2 separate regions of the Homo sapiens genome follow, and region 2 is linked to region 1. The links are contacts of gene promoters, found by promoter capture Hi-C in blood cells and fetal thymus (Javierre and others, 2016). All regions are on one chromosome and are shown on one strand. The core of a region is centred on a gene start or on the middle of the fragment in contact, and the rest is flanking DNA. Distances in the headings are between cores, read along the strand shown. Region 1 holds the start of CLEC12B (C-type lectin domain family 12 member B). Region 2 has its middle 10 kb from the start of CD69.

Region 1 (2,700 bases), core at 60-2,559:
AGACTCTAGGTACACTGTGATATGCACCATATCCACACCTCCTTTTTCCTCACAGGTTAGAATTAGAATTAAAAAGTAAAACAAAACAAGGCAAAAATGTGTAACCACATTTATTAGACATATGCAAAGTCTATTCCCATCGGCTTTTTGTAAATATCCTTCCCTCAAATGTCATGCACCACACAAAATGTAAAGATAAATCTAGAGGGCAGGAGAAAGTAGTTCAGATGACTGACATGATTCAGGAGAACCTGGATAGTTAACATATCTGAAAATAAGAGATGTGGTCTTATATATTAAATCAGAGTCTTGACCATGGAGACTGCTATTTTTCCAATTAGGCATAAGAGAATGAGCTGAAGACCAGCACTGAGACTGGGCTTCCCCACATAGCAGTTGTGTGAGCTTGCTTAAATTATCTAATTTCTCTCACCCTCAGTTTTTTCATCTATGTAATGGAGAAAATACTAATATTCGAATATTATTGTGGATTTTCATTACAATTATATCTGTATATAATGTACATAAAATACTACCCAGATACTATTATTACTGGTTCAACATTACAAATTATGCTCGGATTTCAACTACCCTAAAATTTGAAAAAATACTGACAAAAGAAAAATTAGCTCTGATCTATTTCTAATCCACTCACTCATCTTCCAGTTTTCTCTTAAGTAACTTACATCATCTAAAAGAAAAACGTCCTCTACCTTCTCTATTTTAGAAGCCTCCAATCTGGTTTCTGAAAGAATATCCTCCTGGCATCTCTAACAAGGTATAAATATCAAGGATTATATTCATAAGAAGAAATCTCTAATTCCCCAAGCTCAATTTCTGGCATGTGCAGTCAGAATTTCTCTGACTGTGTGATATCACACAACTTTAAAGAGGTTCTGAAAGCCACATATTTTCACTTCAACCTTGGGAACACTCACTTTTCTAATACATTCCACAACTATTTGTCCCCATTTTGGAGATTTCACAGCACATGTCTTTAACGCCAGTATTAAAGCTGGCACCTCAAAGCATTTAACACCTGTCCACTCCCCCAAGGACACAGCTGGTCTTCTCTGAACTCCTACCTCTTTTTCTTAGGTTATTTCCATCTCGGTTATTCCTTGCTCCAGCAGAATCCTGAAATGTGAGTGTCGCGTAGGTCACTTCTTCAGACATTGTAGAAGAAAACGCTACTTTAAATTATCTAATTAATGTTTCAATATCTTGAGGCCTGGGAACAGCATGTGTTTTTCAAGGCTGGGAGCTTTGATGTAGTCACTCAGCTGACCCAGACACACTCTACTGCCCCTCTGTAAGAGAAGAATGACAATTTGTTTCTCTACAGAGAAAGTGAGAAAAGCCAAATATTCTCCTTAGAGATATTCTCATTAGAATGTTACAGATCTCAAACTGTCTGCTCTGTCAGAACTGTTTCTTGCTGTGCAGCAAAGAAGGGGTGCTTGAGGCAGAGCAGGAGGAACATGAGGGAATTCCCATGATCCTCGGGGTAGAGGATGCTCTGAATGTTTCAGAAAAGAGTCAGGTTGTCTTCTTTACATCTATCTAAGGCTAGCTAATCTGCCTGGAGACATTGGTTCTAGTTTATTCTCAGCCACATTAGATATTAAGCAGAGAGACACACATTAAGACAGAAAGAGCTGTGCCACACACCTGGCTGCTATTATAGAAAATTCAAGCGTGTGTGTGTGTGTGTGTGTGTGTGTGTGTGTGTGTGAGAGAGAGACAGAGAGAGACAGAGAGAGAGAGACAGAGAGAGAGAGACATGGTGTTGGTAATGGAGCATGGAGAAGAAACTGATAGCTACTTAGCTACTTAACGTGAGTATGAATGGGAGTGCCCTCTTCTGGCATGGTTGGGAAAGTTCCTAACAGAACAACAACCATGGGATAATCCTGCAGACAGCAAGGAATACACAGGACAAGATTTTAAAAAGATAACTACCGGAAGTTAATACATCTGTGGTAATTTGTTACAGCAGCAATATGTAGTTAATACAGAACCCAGGAAAATATGGGGGGGGAGCGCTATATATGAGGGACGAAATTAAGGAATCTCCTCTAAAGCTTTCCTTTGGGGAGAGGCAGAATATTAGATAACTGTACTTAGGGGAAGGATTGGGTATGAGTTTTGTGGTTTCAGATGAGTGGGGAGTGATCTAAAACTTCCAAGGTTCATATCTGTGTGGAGATTATCTTAGTCAAAGGTGTCCAGCGTGAGGTGCACTCACCCCACAGCTGTGAAGCAGATGCAGAAAGGCAATGTAAAAACTTTCTCTTTAGGAACGCTGTGCATGATCTCTAAACACCTAAATATACATATGTTACTTGTTCATGTTTTTTGTTTTTTTTTTTTTCAAATTGATGAAATAATCAAAAAAATGTTTGGAGGCTCTAAGTCATATATCAATAAAACTCCACTATCAAAAATATTGAAACAAATAATAAATCTATGCTTATGTTTACTATTCTAGTTGAATTCAGAAAAGGCAGAGACCATTGACATGAGGACCAGTTTAAATAGATGATTACAAAAATAAGAAATTAAGAATGGTTTTCTATCTCTGTTCTGGTCCGTGTCCGGAGTTGGTTCCTGCCGGTGGGTTCCTGGTCTCGCTGACTTCAAAAATGAAGCCGCGGACCTTTGCGGTGAGGGTTACACCTCTTAAAGATGGCACGGACC
Region 2 (3,075 bases), core at 550-3,049, 260 kb after region 1:
CCAAGAAAGTTCATTCCTTCAAAATACATTAAAAAGTATATACTATATGAGAAAGCAGAAAACAGTTACTATAACTTAGGAAAAAATCCCATGTAGAGTAAAACCCTTAGTTTTATAATAGCTTATACATATCAAATTGTTTTCATATGCTTATATGCTAAAGGGTGTATGTATCCATATCCATTTTTCTGTATATAGCAGATGCTCTGTAATAATTACTCCTCATAGTCAATGCTCTGAAAGTATCTTGTTCAATTCTGAGGTGCTACATACACTTTAGTTATTTATGTAAAATAATTCAATATATAGAAAAGAGGCATAATCTTCATGGGATATTTCAATCAGCAAAAAACTCAATGATGTAGTTTGGATGTGTGTCCCTGCCCAAATCTCATGTCGCATTGTAATCCCCTTTGTTGGAGGTGGGGCCTGGTGGGAGGTGATTACATCATGGGAGCGAATCTCTCATGAATGGTTTAGCATCATCCTCTTGATGGTCTCCTTGCACCTGAGTGAGTTCTCAGGAGATCTGGTCTTTTCAAAGTGTGCAGCACTTTCTCTCTCTCTCTCTCTCTTTCTCTCTCTCTTTCCTGCTTTCTCCATGTGACATGCCTGCTCCCACTCCACTTCACCTTCCAACATACATAAAAGCTCCCTAAGCTTCCGCGGAAGCTGAGCAGTGTCAGCATTATGCTTGTAAAAACTGCAGAACCGTAAGCCAATTAAGCCTTTTTTCTTTATAAATTACCCAGTCTCAGATATTTTTATAGCAATGCAAGAATAGCCTAATACATTTGATTACCTTCAAAATTGTTTTATAAATGTAATTTGCAATATTCTTCTCTGCTTGTTGGAAATGTATGATGTGTATGGTATCTCTAAACTATTGGCAAACGGCAAACAGAAATGTGGATTTCAGACACTGCTTAGTGAAAAATAATGACCTCTGTGCTCCTGAGTTCCCACAGCTGTGGGAAAAAAGAAACAAGCAGCCTCCTAGCGGTAATATTCTATCATTACCAACAATCTACTCCCGAGTCATCTTAGAAAACAATGTCTTGCGATTAATATTTTAGTTATAACATATTTTTATGTGCATAAATCTAATCAAATTATGAAAATTGAGAGCAAGCTTAAAAATATTTCTATATTAGTATGACACAATTTTTAAGTCATTGAATACTGACTGTATCACCTAACAATTCAATGAATTTTATCATTTTTACAAATAATTTTATTGAATCCCTATAATTATGTGAAATGAGCAGCTGATGTATTTCCCTTTCCAGAGGAAGAAGTTGAAATTATGTTGAAAAAGCGACGCAAAACACGGATAACAGAGTTATTTTTTACACATAATTTGAAGTCATTTTATTCATAAGGACAACTGTTTTCTTTAAATAGATAAAAAATATACAATTCTTAAAGGGAATAATGTTATTATTTAAAGTATGACTCTACTTGCAAGTGACCAATGACAAATATAAAAAATGGGTTTGTCTCAAGAACCCCTCCTGCCCCCGGCTAAGTCCCCTGTTACAAAAGTTGCAGTGCCATCTAGTGGTTATACGAGATTACTGCACTTCTGTTTTAAGGATCCTACAAAACATCTATGTGGAGCGTGGAGCTGCTGAGACCCAAAGCACGGGGGCCAGACCGCCCGAGTTTCATCTCTGCCACGCGCGGGCTGACTAGCTATTTTATCAGAACTCGTTCAAAATTCAGCTAAAATTAGTTAGATGTTAAATTAGTTAGTACATGAAAACAAACTTAAAACATTATCTGGCTCCCTAGTACACCATAGGCATGTATTAAATACTCATGATGATTATTAGAACTAGAAACACTATGTCTTCAAACTTCCAGTATTGGCATAAAGCCGCGTTTCTACACGACATGTCTATTTCTACGTAATATATCTTATTTGTATTTGTTTTTGGAAAGCCTTTTAAAAATTTCATTTCACAAGTTATAAGTAAGCACCTACTACTATGGTGGACACCAGAGTTAAAATACTCAGCAAATTCCGCATGGCAACTGGCCTTGTGGAATTCGTGGTCTATTTGTAAAACAAACAACAAGATGAATTGACATGGTGTGATGAATGTTATAATAGGAAAAACGTAGGGTGCTATGGAAGCATATTAAAGATATACTCCTGTATTCAAACCTTTAGCTAATTATCAAAATTTTAACTCTGTAGGCTACATTCATCTTGGATAGTTACATAAATATGTGTAAAATAAAACTATCAGTTATCCGTGTTTTGCGTTGCTTTTTCAACATAATTTCAATTTCTTCCTCTGGAAAGGGGAATACATCAGCTGCACATTTCACATAATTGTAGGGATTGGATAAAACTTTTTAAAAAGGCTAAAATGCCATTGAACTGTTAGGTGCTATAGTCAGTATTCAACTACTTAAAAATTGTATGATACTAATATAGAAATGATATTTTTAAGCTTGCTGTCAATTTTCATAATTTGATTAGATTTTGCACATGAAAATGTATTATAACTGAAATTAAAATGTAAATGATTTTTCAGGGAAAAATATTGGGAAATATATGACCAGAACGACTGCTGGTGATGGTGTAAACTGGTTTCCTTTACCCTTTGGAAAGCAGCTTGACAATACTTACTGGGGAGGGAGGGAGATTTTAAAGAAATAATCTTGGATGTGCAAGACATAACCACAAAAATGTTTATCAAAGGGATATTTCTAGTAGTGAAAAATCAGAAGCTACCTAATTGTCCAAAACCAAAGATTTAGTTAAATAAATATAATGCTCCTACATGATGAAATGCTATCCCAACATTAAAAAATAATGAAGAACATTTATGTATATGAAAGAATACTCAAACTATTATTGCTGCTAGTTTAAAATAATATATACAATAGGATTATTTCCTGTTCAATATTAAATATACAAAACATGTTTTATATTTCTATATGCTGACAGAAAGTAAAACTACTAAAGTAAACACAGTGGTTTTCCCTGAGGAGGAGGAATATAGGAAGTATTTATTTTCTTTATGTTTTTCTATAATTTTGGATCTCTTTCTTTCTTTCCTT

The links. Contacts are between HindIII fragments. The CHiCAGO score rates a contact against its expected background, and 5 or more counts as called.
Region 2: a fragment that was not itself captured here is called in contact with the fragment with the promoter of CLEC12B in region 1 in 4 of 17 cell types (M0 macrophages, megakaryocytes, M1 macrophages and 1 more); the score reaches 8.9 in M0 macrophages.

Annotation. Positions count from the first base shown.
Region 1 is chr12:10,009,236-10,011,935 of GRCh38, reverse strand. It overlaps CLEC12B (C-type lectin domain family 12 member B), which reads right to left and starts at 1,309. Exons shown (of 6, transcript NM_001129998.3): 1 at 1,086-1,309. The coding sequence starts at 1,176. The HindIII fragment of the contact is 2,412 bases long and covers 1-2,086 here.
Region 2 is chr12:9,749,405-9,752,479 of GRCh38, reverse strand. No RefSeq gene overlaps it. Among named protein-coding and RNA genes, the nearest start is that of CD69, 10 kb to the left of the region's middle. RefSeq lists a silencer at 933-1,012 and an enhancer at 1,473-1,767. The HindIII fragment of the contact is 1,330 bases long and covers 1,135-2,464 here.